4 separate regions of the Homo sapiens genome follow, and all the other regions are linked to region 1. Evidence: promoter capture Hi-C in 16 types of primary human blood cells and fetal thymus (Javierre and others, 2016). All regions are on one chromosome and are shown on one strand. The core of a region is centred on a gene start or on the middle of the fragment in contact, and the rest is flanking DNA. Distances in the headings are between cores, read along the strand shown. Region 1 holds the start of PPP1CB (protein phosphatase 1 catalytic subunit beta). Region 2 overlaps GPN1 (GPN-loop GTPase 1). Region 3 holds the start of GTF3C2 (general transcription factor IIIC subunit 2). Region 4 overlaps LOC105374378 (a long non-coding RNA gene).

What was found. The method cuts DNA at HindIII sites, captures the fragments that hold promoters and counts their contacts. A CHiCAGO score of 5 or more calls a contact.
Region 2: a fragment that was not itself captured here is called in contact with the fragment with the promoter of PPP1CB in region 1 in 1 of 17 cell types (neutrophils); the score reaches 5.8 in neutrophils.
Region 3: a contact is called between the fragment with the promoter of GTF3C2 here and the fragment with the promoter of PPP1CB in region 1, in 1 of 17 cell types (non-activated CD4 T cells). The highest score is 5.5, in non-activated CD4 T cells.
Region 4: a contact is called between a fragment that was not itself captured here and the fragment with the promoter of PPP1CB in region 1, in 1 of 17 cell types (activated CD4 T cells). The highest score is 5.3, in activated CD4 T cells.

What each region holds. Positions count from the first base shown.
Region 1 is chr2:28,749,715-28,753,194 of GRCh38, reverse strand. It overlaps PPP1CB (protein phosphatase 1 catalytic subunit beta), which reads right to left and starts at 1,365. Exons shown (of 8, transcript NM_002709.3): 1 at 1,019-1,365. The coding sequence starts at 1,070. PPP1CB-DT (PPP1CB divergent transcript) reads left to right here and starts at 1,439. Exons shown (of 5, transcript XR_007086259.1): 1 at 1,439-1,552; 2 at 2,810-3,480. RefSeq lists silencers at 713-932, 1,423-1,612 and enhancers at 795-1,439, 1,743-1,952. The HindIII fragment of the contact is 5,134 bases long and covers 1-2,720 here.
Region 2 is chr2:27,632,890-27,636,398 of GRCh38, reverse strand. GPN1 (GPN-loop GTPase 1) reads right to left here. Exons shown (of 14, transcript NM_007266.4): 6 at 1,475-1,553; 7 at 1,165-1,259. Among named protein-coding and RNA genes, the nearest start is that of GPN1, 5.6 kb to the right of the region's middle. The HindIII fragment of the contact is 9,452 bases long and covers 1-3,509 here.
Region 3 is chr2:27,354,871-27,358,360 of GRCh38, reverse strand. It overlaps GTF3C2 (general transcription factor IIIC subunit 2), which reads left to right and starts at 1,597. Exons shown (of 19, transcript NM_001035521.3): 1 at 1,597-1,622. It overlaps GTF3C2-AS2 (GTF3C2 antisense RNA 2), which reads right to left and starts at 1,596. Exons shown (of 4, transcript NR_183827.1): 1 at 1,505-1,596; 2 at 459-553. RefSeq lists enhancers at 1,267-1,396, 976-1,589, 1,407-1,746, 1,797-2,076, 1,590-2,203. The HindIII fragment of the contact is 6,500 bases long and covers 1-3,490 here.
Region 4 is chr2:27,724,388-27,727,591 of GRCh38, reverse strand. The region is part of intron 2 of LOC105374378 (a long non-coding RNA gene); the gene reads right to left. Among named protein-coding and RNA genes, the nearest start is that of LINC01460, 10 kb to the right of the region's middle. The HindIII fragment of the contact is 5,291 bases long and covers 1-3,204 here.

The DNA of each region.
Region 1 (3,480 bases), core at 116-2,615:
AGGATTAAAGGCTTTTCTACACACTCACAAAACAATTATTGATGACGAAAACTTTAGGGTAGAGGGACTGTTTGGCAGAAGACTGCATTTAACTTTGAATAATATCCTGCAATGAATCAATACATTTAACTCCCGGCTAGTCCACCTCTTCGTTTTCCCCCCTTGCCTTCCCACCAACATAAAACTATTCAATAAGAACACTTGAGCCCGGAAAGTTCAAATGCTGCGTAGACCTACAAATACCTTTCGAATACAAGACAGGCTTTAAAAATAGATTTTCACTAAGTTTGTGCAGAAATTAAGCTCTGCTCAAATCAAATGCAAAAGCCAATCCCTTCAGCAAACCCATCTACATACATCACATTTCTTAGGTGCATCTTCAACCTGATCAAATATCTTGTCTTACAATTTTTTTAGGCCAAGTAACAAACGGTAGATTAATTCCCGCTAATTTTATCCTCTCTTTAAGAAGAATCCATTCTATATAGCATTGTGTAAAAATGCAGAGCAGACGAAGCAGTCCTGTTAAGGACAGGTTTATATATATATACGTAAAATTCACTCCCGGAACGACAATCGGAGGCAGCCAAGGGCAATGCACAAAGAGAACAGAGAAGAACAGTGATTCCACGGACGCACAAAGCCCAGTGGCAGGCATCCTCTCCCCATCCTCGGGTCACCGGAGGCGAGCACCACGGCGCGCGGAGCCCGGCGGCCTTTCCGAAAGGCTGTCTCCCGCAGACCCGCTCCGCACAGCCTTCGGCCGGCGGGCCTGGCCCCCGAGGGTCCGCGGGAACGGCCCCCTCTCCCCCGATCTCCCCTGACCGCGCTCCCAGAGGCCGCTCCCCCGCGCCCAGAGCCTCCTCGCCCCCTCCTCGGTTCGTCCGCCGCGCCGCGCTCCCAGAGACTCGTCTCGGGGCGGGAAAGGGGTCCCCTCGCGTTCCGGCGGCAGACGGGGACGCAGGGGTCGGCGGCGGTGCCCGACCTCCCTCTGTCCCGCGGCCAGGCGCGCACTCACCCTCCAGCAGCCGGGTGATGAGGCTGTCCACGTTCAGCTCCCCGTCCGCCATCTTGTCGGCACAGACTCTCCTTCCCAGCAGCGGGAACAAGGGCTTCTCGGCGGCGGAGGCTGCGGCGACGGCTCGGCGTTCTCTCACCTACAAGTCACGCGGCGTTTCGACCCCGGCTCCAACTCCCCCTTTTCCCGGGCCCTCCCCCCACCCCCTCCCCGCCGGGTAGCGAGAGCGCGCGCACACTCGGAGGCACCCACGGAAAATAAATAAATAAACAAGAGAGGCCCCCTCGAACAGGGCCGCGTCAGACCCAGGCCGCCACCTCCTCCTCCTCGGCACCGCCCAGCTCCGCAAAGCTCACCAGCGCCGCCGACGGCCCCACCCGCAGCGCCACTCACTCCGCACGTCCCTTGCGCGCCGCCGCGTCACGCAGCTCTCCGCGCAGGCGCGCGGTGCGCTCCCCGCCGAGGCTCCCCTCGACGCCTGGGCCGCCGCGCAACCGCACTGGAGCGGCTTCTCCCGCTGCCGTCTTCGCGCAGGTGCGTCGCCCTCTCTCCACGTCCACGGCGCCGAGTCTCGCCACGGTGGCGCAGGCGCCAGGGAGGTTCCCCGGCTTTGCCGCGCGGAGGAAGTCCCGGTTACGCAGAGCGCGCTGGGGCAGGGCTGACCTTCCCCTTTCTCTACTTCACTGGCCTCCTCCAGACGTGGTGGTTGCGCCCTTTCGGCCTCGCTTTCCGTTTTTTGGCTTCATCCCCTAGATCTGCAAACAGTTCCTCGTGTTTCTTCCGTTAGCCGGGAAACGCGAACTGCAGCGTTTGGGACCCGGGTTTGCGCGTGTGGAAAGCAAAAGGGGTTACTCTGCTGGAGTTCGACATTGCAAATAAAGGTCTTTATCCCCGGCGGTTCTACAAAATTAGTTCTGCAGGGATTCTGGTTGAAAGAAGCGTTAAAGTGGGCCTTGTAGGAGTCAGCAATAATCCAATTTTACATGGGTGCAGGTGGCTGCCTGTGTCTAGCGCTTTCACACATCTCATATCTTCATCCACGCCGTGGGTATTTTTTTTCCACGGTGTGTTTCTGTTGCTGCCTCCAGTATATTGCTTAATCATCCTACCTGGTAATTATTTATGCATTTTTCTCCTACTCTCGACTCAGCTCCTAGGGAATAAAAACACATTAACTTATCTTTGTGCCCACAGCACCCACCAAGTATTTCCATCACGTAATACTGCCTCTAGAAAGGCAGGAGGAGAAGCAGTCACGCTAAGGATCTAGGCAAGCCAGATCTTTTGTCCGGTTTTAGGAGGTGGCCAGCCCTTACTTATTCCACAAGTGTTTTTCCAGAAACTCAGACTTGATATTGCCTCAAGTCCAAGGCAGTGTGCTTCCCCCACTCACATATCACTAATAGTAGCTAACATTTGTTCAGATCCCTGTATGTACTCTGCCACTGTTTTAAATGTTACACCCGGGTTACCTCATTTAATCCTTACAACTGCCCTGTGAGGTAGGTACTATTATTATCTCTACTTTGTAGATGGGATTCACCGAGGCACAGACGGTTAAAAAACCTAGCCCAAATAACACAAATAAACAGCAGAGCATGCAGTGCTAGAGTCTGCATTCTTAACAATTGCTATATTCTCCCTCTCCGTGAATGTGGGCTGAGATGCTGAAACAGGCATGTGCTGTGGGGGAGAAAAAGCTTTGTCCAACCAAGTGCTTTCTAATGTCCAGATGACATAGAGCTAGGATTTCCTAATGTCTTTTTTCCCCTATTTTTCTCTCCATTTCAGGGTTGAGTTTGTGCATCGATTGTGAACACAACAGGCAGCAGGCTATAATGGTGGTCCTGGCTGGAGTAGTTTTCACAGACTTCAGTAATCTGTGGAGATGAACGGGCAGTTCTCTGTAGTTTTCACAGATCACTGCCAGTTCGTTTTGAGGCCTTCAGGAGTGAAGACCTGGCTCATCATCACTCTTTGTTGTTTTGTTAAATTTATTTACACCCTACTTTATTCCAGAGGAAAGGATTTAACGTAGTTTACATAAATGTGTACATCAGGGTAAATTAAAAATAAGTACAGAGAAAAATAGGACAAAAGAAAACCGTGAGTGTGAAAGATAAGATTAAGCCAGCAGTTTTGTATGCAAAATGCATGGTGTAAGGTCCTATTGGTTTGCTGGAGGTAGGCCACACATATGACTCTCAGTTTTCTAGCAACCAAGAAAAAGATCAGTTGCAATCGGAGTAGGTGTTTTGGCTAAGCTGGAACTAGGACTTGAATATAGCAGCTTGTAGAGTTATACCACTTGCCCAAATCTCTTCCATGAGCCTCTTTAAGTGTAACAGAATGCCTGGGAGCACGTAAATGCTCCTACTTAGATGCCTACTTAGCCTCTAATTTTCATGGGGCCCATGAATCCCATGAAAAAGAACTTTGAACCCTGTCCACAATTAGAGTTC
Region 2 (3,509 bases), core at 757-3,256, 1.1 Mb after region 1:
CCCTTGTCATATCAGAAAAGACAAATGTTGGTGATGGCATTTGTGTACCCTCAAAATTAAATTCTCTCAGCTTTAATAACTGTCAGCCTTGCTCCTCAGTCTTAATGCACTAATCTAGTGAGGCATGCCCTTCCTCTGCTAATGGTGCCACATTTGGGGCAAACCAGTGCATTTTATTTTTTTGAGACAGGGTCTCACTCTGTTGCCCAGCCTGGAGTACAGTGACATCATCACAGCTCACTCCAACCTTGGCCTCCCAGGCTCAAGCAATCCTTCCACCTCTGCCTCCCAGGTAGCGGGGATTACAGGCACACACCACCATCCCTGGCTAATTTTTTGTATATTTTGTAGAGATGGGGTTTCACCATGGTGCCCAGGCTGGTCTCAAACTCCTGGGCTCAGGCGATCCTCCCACCACAGCCTCCCCAAGTGCTGGGATTATAGGCATGAGCCACCATGCCTGGCCACCTGTGCATTTTACAATTATGGATAAATCTTCTTATTCATGGTATCTCCTCATGTTACAATTTCACTCTACCAGCATCATTTAGGCCAGAGGACTCTATTCTTCTCTCTCTCTCTCGTTGCCCCAGGCTCTTGTTGCCCCAAGCCGGAGTGCAGTGGCACAATCATGGCTCACTACAGCCTCAACCACCTGAGCTCAAGCAATCCTCCCACGTCAGCCTCCCAAGTAGCTGGGACTACAAGGGCGTGCCACCACGCTGGCTAATTTTAAAACATTTTTTGTAGAGACAGAGTCTTGCTATGTTCCCCAGCCTGGTTTCAAACTCCCAAGCTCAAACGATCCTCCCACCTTGGCCTCCCAAGTGTAGGGATGACAGACCCAGCCCAGAGGACTTTATCTTTAAACTTGGATTTTATCCAACTGGGAACAACTATCAGACAGTTCATATTCATACATCACCTTTTTGTAACAACAAGGGAGGAAGATCAGAGGGTATTGAGAGAGAATGCCAACAGCACATGTGCCTCTTTTCTCCTCTGACCTTCCCCAGCTCACAGCCACTCAACTGAACAGCAAATCTGAATGAGCACAAATCCAGGGGTAAGCAACCAGATTCAAAAAAAAAAAAAAAAGAGGAAGAAGAAGAGAAAAAGGCCTTATACCTTGATGGAACACTTTCCCCACCAACAATCAATTACCTGCAGGCATAGAGCATGTTGGACATGAAGGTCACTGGGTTGGTACTTCTCGATGTGTCCATTACATAGATGACAACTGTTGGAAATGAGGATGCCTAAAGCCACAAAAAAATCAAAGCCTTGGTCAGAGGGCTCACGATCTGTCCTCAAACTCTTTTTCCACCATCCTTAACAAGGGAAAACCACTTTAGGCAGGGTGTGCAGAGCTTCTACAACTTCCTCCCATATAAAGTCCAAGGCAATTAAAAATAAATGCTCATCCAGTCTAGCCCCTCTAGCTACTCTCAGTAGCAAGTCCTAGAATACTCACAAGGGCTTCAGTGATAATTGTCCCAGAAGCTGACCAGGTGAATACCTCAATCTGTCCAGGTGTGTCAATCAACACATATCTATGTCAAGAAAGATCATTAAAGAAGTGTTACATTTGTGTTATGCTGAAGGATATTCCATCATATAAGACAATAAACATCTGGTTATCCAAGACTGGAGTAACCTCTGCACACTGCCAAATCTAACTTCCTCCTACTGGCCCTAAACTGCACATGATGATCCCCTAGACTTTGTTCAATGACCAATATTCACGCCAATGGGCAGGAACAGCAGACCATGAGTTGCTGCAAATGATCACAGGGGAAACTTTTATAGAAACACAATGCATTTAAAATGAAAGACACAAAACCAGAATGTAAATCTCTTGGGAAACATCTGGTTGCTTAGGGCGGGGGTGAGTGTGGAACAGAGGAAGAAGAATGGGAGGAATGGGAAAGTGCTAGCTGAAGAATATCAGGTTACTTCTTGAGATGATGAAAATATTCTAAAATTGACTGTGGTGATAGTTGTACAATTCTGTGAATATACTAAAAGCCACTGAATTGTATACCTTAAATGGGTGAATTGTATGGTATGTGAATTATCTCAATAAAGCTGTTTTTATGAACTATATCAACTTTTTTGTGAATTAATTTGATATAATTATGAATTATATCAGAATTTTTTTAATTGGCAAAGAATTCTAATAGACATTTCTCTAAATATATACATACCAATGGCCAATAAGTACATTAAAAAGATGTTCAATATCATTAGTTATTAAGAAAATAAAAGTAAAAACCACAATGAGATACCACTCTATATCCACTAGAATGGCTATAATCAAAAACAAGAAGAATAACAAAAGTTGGCAAGGTTATGGAGGAACTGGTTGTGGAGAAATCATATTGCCAATGGGAATGGAAAATGGGGTAGTCACTAGGGGCTAAAGGGAACAGAAAATAAGGAGTGATTGGTAATGAGTATGGGGTTTCTTTTCAGGATGACAAAAATATTCTGAAGATAGTAATTATCAACACACGACTCTGTGGACAGACTAAAACAACCATACACTTTAAACGAGTGAACTTTATGGTATATGAATTATATCTTAATAAAGCTGTCATTAAAAAAAAAAAAATACCTCCAGGCCAGGCTCAGTGGCTCACACCTATAGTTCCAGCACTTTGGGAGGTTAAGCCGGGCAGATCACTTGAGGTTAGGAGTTTGAGACCAGTCTGGCCAACATGGTGAAACCCCATCTCTACTAAAAATACAAAAATTAGTCAGGCATGGTAGCAGGCCACCTGTAATCCCAGCTACTCAGGAGGCTGAGGCAGGAGAATCGCTTGAACCCGGGATGCAAAGATTGCAGTGAGCCAAGATCACACCACTGCACTCCAGCCTAGGCAATAGAGCGAGACTCCATCCCAAAAATACAAAAATACAAAAATTAGCCAGGTGTGGTGGCTCACACCTGTAGTCCCAGCTACTTGGGAGGCTGAGGTGGGAGGATCACCTGAGCCAGGGAGGTGGAAGTTACAGTGAGCTGAGATCACTACACTGTACTCCAGCCTGGGCGACAGAGCAAGACCCTGTCTCAAAACAAAACAAAAGCTACCTCTAGTACCCCATTTTTGTAAAAGCACTTTTATCCATTCATCCTTCTATCTGTGTATATAGAAATGTGGAATGCTAGTCGCTGAATGATGATGTTACTTCTAGTGGGAATCGGGGTGATGGTTTCATCTTATAAATATCATGCATGGTTTGAATTTTTATAAAACAATAAATTATCTTTTTTAAAAAAAGTAAACCTTGAACAACAGCTAACTGGGTAATGGCCATAAGAACAAATATTTCCTATTCTGACACTCTGTAAATTAAAAAATTTTCTCTGAACCATGTAGACTATATTCATTTAAATAAGAATTAGAAAGGTATTTCAGATACTTTAATGACAACAAGCATGGTTTCCCAAGAGAAGGCAGGTGGACAACTGAATTGGGACAAAGTCTCAAAAGAGCTCCTAAGAA
Region 3 (3,490 bases), core at 348-2,847, 1.4 Mb after region 1:
GGAGGCTGAGGTGGCAGGTTGAGGCTGCAGTGAGCCGTGATTGCACCACTGTCCTCCAGCCTGGGTGACAGAGCAAGACCCTGTCTCAAAACAAACAAACAAACAAACAAACACCTAGTAGAAATTAGAGGCAGAGAAGTAGATCAGTGAAAAGATTGGTTATAAATCAAAATTACAAATGCACCTAAAACTTTGGTTCACAATTCCACTTCTAGAAATTATCCTACCCATATAGTTACACATTTGAAGTAATTTAGATGCAAGGTTACTTATAGCAGTGTGATTTATAATAGCAAGGGACCATTGTTTATAACAGCAAAACCATGTAAATATGCATCAATATCAACAAGGCACTAGTTATACCACATCCACCCAATTAAATGCTAACTAGTTATAGCACAGAATGAGAAAGGTTTTTGTGTACAGAAATGGAATAATGGCCAAACTCAGTGACTTACACCTGTGATCGCAGCACTATGGGAGGCTGAGGCAAGAGGATCACTTCAGGTCAGGTGTTCAAGACCAGCCTGGTCAACATAACGAGACCCCATCTCTAGAAAAAATTAAAAAATTAGGCCGGGCGCGGTGGCTCATGCCTGTAATCCCAGCACTTTGGGAGGCTGAGGCAGGCGTATCACAAGGTCAGGAGTTCGAGACCAGCCTGGCCAACATAGTGAAACCCCTTCTCTACTAAAAAGACAAAAATTATCCGGGCTTGGTGGCGGGCGCCTGTAATCTCAGCTACTCGGGAGGCTGAGGCAGGACAATTGCTTGAACCCGGGAGGCGGAGTTTGCAGTGAGCCGAGATCGCGCCACTGCACTCCAGCCTGGGGACAGAGCAAGACTCCATCTCAGGAAAAAATAAAAATAAAAATAAAAACGGGGTCTCACTATGTTGCCCAGGCTGGTATCGAATTCCTGGGCTCAAGTGATCCTCCCCCGCCTTGGCCTCCCAAAGTGCTGGGATTACAGACAGGAGCTACCATACCCAGCCAAAGTCATGCTTTTCTACTCCTACTCCTTCCCTTCCTTGTCCTCTTTCCAAGCTCTCTCGGGCCCATCCCTGACTTCACTACTGGCAGAATCCTCCAGCGGCCGGCGGCGAGGACTTCTTTGTCTCCCAGACTCCGCCTTGGGCTCGGACGCCGCCAGGGTTGCAGGTACAGACTCTCTGGTCTAGCTGGCTCTTCCGGCCACAGGCGCGGCAGTCCGGCCGGAAAGGCCGGATTCAGGGATCCAGAGCGCGAGCCCGGCCTGGGAGTCCGCCTACTCCCGGCTCCCGTCGAGGCCGCGTGGGATCCCGTTGGCCGCGCAGGCGTCGATCTCCCCTTTTTGACACTGCAACTCCCATGAGGCCCTGCAGCGTCCCTGGCGCCGCTGAAGACGCCCTGGAACTCGGCTGGCTTCGGAGGGCTCGGTGACTCTGGCCGCGCTGCATTATGGAATACAGAGTCTAAGAGAAAACTAGCCCGGCACCGACTCCGGACCAAGCACACGTGTTTACCTTGTGCACTGGGGTGGGGGCGTCAGTGAAGAGCAGCTAACAAGATTTCGTCATAAGACCGCGACCAGACAGGCGGCGCCATCTTCGAACTTAGACTTCCGGAAGGACTTTGGCGAGGGTGAGTGTATCGCCGCAGCGGGTGTGTGGGGGGCCCCACAATTACTCCTCCCCCTTCTTTTGCCATAGCACTAAGATATTGGGAACAAACTCCTGGCTCCGCTCTTCTCCCAGCCACAGCAGCGCGCCTTTCAGCGTCTGCGCTCCTACAGAGCACCATCATGCTCCGCACCTTCCCTACTGTGGCCACCGTGCACCCCCCATCTCTGCAAGCCTCGGGTCTTGCCCTCCTCCCCCACGCGGTGTCGGTAACGCGGAAGCCTGTGTCCGGGCGTAGGCGCTGCATACGTAGCGTCCCTCGAACTCGGCGAACCTACAGTAGTCCTTGTTAGAAAAACCAGGGCTCCTCTCCCGCACAGGCTAGGGGAGAAATCTACCTTCACGCCCAGGACTGAAGAAGGGCAGGTGATGGCCCCTAGAGTGGTTGTGGGTCAATCTCTTTCAGCTGTGTCCCAGCCTCTTCCTCGAGGAGGCTCTTTAACCCCGAGGGTTGTGCCCCGCGCGCTGCAACGCCATTGGCGTAACCAAGGGCCAGTTGTGTTTCCCTGTCTAGTCCTTTTGTCCCGTGGCAAGTTGGCTGCCTGTTGGGGAAGTCAGAGGTGGCGACTTCAACTCCGTCGGAGGCAACTCACTTTGTTGGAGGGATGTATAGGGTATGGACAAACCTCTTTGTTCCAGAGGCATATACAATTTTAAGTCAATCCCGTGCCATCACTATTTTTGCAATCTCTTATCAATTGTACTATTGTTTTCTGAATAGTTCTCTTTAAATTGACTTACTTAAAAAGTTTAAATGCATTAGTCTCGACCTAAGCAATATAAATGAAACCGTGGGTTTCATGGGCTACTTATAATTGTTTATGTAAGTTGAAATAAAAGCACTAGTCATTAAAATGTTCGTTTTCGTACCATTAAAATCATCTTGCATACCGCCAGTTGTACCCTAGGAACACTTTAGGAAACAATATATTAAGCTAAGCAGTGTATTCAAAGTAATTTCATACTTAAGGTGCAGTGTTGTGTCATTATTTTTTCTTGGCTGGGGAGGTCAAGCTGGCATCCTGGAGCAGCATGGGAACCAGACAGATTGGGGTGCAATGGAAGGTTTTAGAAACTCAGTACGAATTTACTGATCATCTATTCCTTTACTGTGTATCCAGAATTTGTACCATTACATCCTGCTGCTGCCTTCCATGAGAAGTGTATTTTTTTTTTTTTTGATACGGAGTTTTGTTCTTGTTGCCCAGGCTGGAGTGCAGTGGCGTGATCTCGGCTCACTGCAACCTCCGCCTCCCGGGTTCAAGCGATTCTCCTGCCTCAGCCTCCTGAGTAGCTGGAATTACAGGCGCGTGCCACCATGCCCGGCTACTTTTGTATTTTTAGTAGAGACGGGGTTTTACCATGTTGGTCAGGCTGGTCTCGAACTTGTGACCTCGTTATCCGCCCACCTCGGCCTCCTAAAGTGCTGGGATTACAGGCGTGAGCCACCGTGCCCGGCCAGGCAAATTATATGTACAGGCAATTCATAAAAGTCATATGGATGTCCAATATATAGAAAGAAGTTGCTGACACCAATTATTATCAGTGCAAATAAATAGAGTGGGGAAGAATTCTTTCACCTATCAGATTGGCGAAAATTAAAAAGATCAGTAACGGTATGATAAAATGGGTACTAATATACATAAATAGTTTTAATTTTGGTGAGCCGTTTGGTAGTATCAAATTTTGAAATGTGCATGTTCTTCAGTGTAGTACAGTAATTCCATGTTCAGATGATTATTCGAGAAAAATAATTTATTGATGAATTAATGAAGAGATTTGTACTAGAATATTTATTGCAGTATTTTTTGAAATAGTATTTTAACTCAT
Region 4 (3,204 bases), core at 209-2,708, 1.0 Mb after region 1:
CTTAATCAAAAGTAACTGGGCCAACTCCTCCTGCCCAACCCCATGCCATGGCCAGATCATTGTCAAGCTGTCCCAGGCGTGCGTCATGGTCACTCCCTGATCTGACTTGAACATTGGCCTTGGGAGGAAAACGGAGCTGTCAGTCTGACTTCCTCTTCCTTTCTCCCCTCTGCCTCTGCTGAGAGCATTGAGGGAGGAGTCATAGTTCTCTTCATAGTCATAGTTTCCAGAATAAGGCATTTCCATAGGCAGCCGGGTGCGGTGGCTCACGCCTGTAGTCCTAGCACTTTGGGAGGCAGAGGCAGGCAGATCACCTGAGGTCAGGAGTTCCAGACCAGCCTGGCCAACATGGCGAAACCTTGTCTCTACTAAAAATACAAAAATTAGCCAGGCATGGTGGGGCATGCCTGTAATCCCAGCTACTCGGGAGGCTGAGGCAGGAGAATCACTTGAACCCAGGAAGCTGAGGTGGCAGTGAGCTGAGATTGTGCCATCGCACTCCAGCCTGGGCAACAGAGCGAGACTCCATCTCAAAAAACAAAAACAAAAACAAAAACAAAAAAATCATAGGCTATAGTAGTGCTGTTGCCATTTGACTAGTGTCTATTACACTGAGCATCTACTATATACCCAGAACTTTCCTGGGTTCTAGGGATATAGCAATGAGCAGAACAAATTCTTTTTTTTTTTTTCTTTGAGGTAGAGTCTCACTCTGTCACCTAGGCTGGAGTACAGTGGTGCAATCTCAGCTCACTGCAACCTCTACTTCCCAGGTTCAAGTGATTTTCGTGCCTCAGCCACCCAAGTAGCTGGGATTATAGCCATGCGCCACCACACACAGCTAATTTTTTTGTATTTTTTAGTAGAGATGGGGTTCGCCATGTTGGCTAGGCTGGTCTCAAACTCCTGGCCTTAAATGATCCACCCACCTCAGCCTCCCAAATTGCTGGGATTGCAAGCATGAGCCATCGCACCTGGCGCAGAACAAATTTTTATCCTATATATTGTAACAGAACTGTATTGAACGAAGTATTTCAGCCTTGGATGACACATACTTAAACCCATGAAGATGATAAAGCCCACTATCGAGAAGACTTATTGTTTTGTCTGCCCAGAACAGCACCTCCCTTCTTTGGGGGAAATCCTCCTTCACCAATTCAGCTGTAATTATGGAAGGAGCTGCCAATTATTGTGCCAATTATTGTGTATTGCTCCAGTGTTCACAGGAATGAGTGTGAAACCCAGGTTGGGCCAGTCACTGAACCCTAGGAGCCCCTTGGCCACAGTGATTGGTCTAGGAAGAGTCATATGGTCTGGGTTGAACAAATCAGAATGCCTTTCCTTCCATAGCTTTTTCCTTTAAAAGTTTTAAAATTAATTTTAAATACATAAATTATACCTGAATACGTTATCACTGAAAAAGTTTAAACCTGACAGTCTCCTTCAATCTCAACACCTAATCTTAGCTTCACCAGAGATAACCAAGGTAATTTAGTGAATCTAGACCTTTTCTATGCATTTTCATATATTTAGAAATATGTTATAAACATATATAAATATATATTATTATTTCAAGGTTTTGTTTTGGTTTTGGTTTATGCTTGAGTGATACCATATTGTATCTATATACTGCAAATTACATTTTTCATTTACCAAGATGTCTTAGGGGTTTATGTCAGTACATACTTCATTCTTTTTAATAGTTTCCAGGTTTTCAGAGTATAAAATATATCATGGTTTAAAGATGGACACTTATGTTATTCCTAATTTTGCATTACAAATAATTCTTCACATAACACCCTGGCCTGTGTTTCCTTGTGCACATACATGAGAGTTACTGGTCTGGATTTTGAGACATGGCATCATGAGATCCATGGTAACCACATTTCAAATTATAATAGATACTGCCAAATTTCCCTCCAAAGGGACTGGGACAATTTATGTTCCCTCCAATAGTGTATCACAGCATTAGGGTCTCCATTTTCCATTCCTTCATCAGTACTGGAAAAGAACAAAGTGTAACATTTTTGAACTGTGACGACTGCACACTGGTATGCTGCTGTTTGCTGTCCTCTAGCCGGAGCTGGTGTGAAAGAGTGCTTTCCTCTCTGGCCATGGGGCTGTGAGGATGGGCACACAGAGCCTCACAGCCTTGAGAGCAGGTGGATAAATCAACATCCTGAGGGGAGGGGACGTCCCAAGGATGTCCACTCCTTGAAGCCATTTGTTTTATCCCTGTCTCCACAGTAGTTTATGTAAGCCAACACCTTCATCTTTGGGGCTCAAGCTAATTAGAATTTTGTTTCTGTTACTTTCAGCCACAAGACTGAACTCATGATTAAAATGTATAAATGACCATTGTTTCTCTCATCCCTGGCCCTGAGATCACAAAGTTTATGCTGATTATTCTCTCTTATTGTTCTATTTCTCCTCTCCTCCTCATTCCTTACTTTCCTCATGCCCACATTCCTCTCCCCAGGCACCATATTCAGGGGGTTCAGATCACCTGTGGGGTCCTTTTCAGAAAGGGCAGAGGAGAGCAGGAAACAAAGCCCCTGGGAACAGGAGACGGGAGGGGCATGGGCCTGATTCCCCTGTGGAATCTTTCCCGAGTGAACACAGGCACTCTTAGTTTCTGTGCCTAGGCCTTAGGCCAATGTCTCTGTTTTAACAGAAAAAAAAAAAAGAAAGAAAAAGGAAAAGAGTAAAAAAGCAAAAACTAAAAGACACAGTGGAAGAATCTGCCCTCCCTTTTTGTTTTGAATTATCATACCCCCCAGCACTGAGTGAAAACTCATTTTGTTAAAAATTGACATAGCAGTTGCAGCTTCTTAGACACAGACACAACATAAACACATAAACACAGGCTGTGAGTGTTCTTTTGATGGTAGTATGTGTTTATTGTTTTATTTTATTAATAAAAGAGTGAGAACAGGGTACTAAATTATACCCAATCCAAAATAAAAGGAGAGCAGCTCAATATTTACTCCCATAATGACACCAGGTCACCCATCTGTAGGACGCTGGGGCCTGGTTCAGAGCAAGATGCTGTCTCCAGTTGCCATGACCCGAGGTGCTAGAGAGTTCTGAGTGTAACCCTTCTCAGATATGAGCTCATCTCACCCTGGAATAATTCTGAGAAGTAGGAATGGCATAGGGACAACATCCCCATTTCAGAAAGGAGGGGCCCTGGGGAAAGAGGCT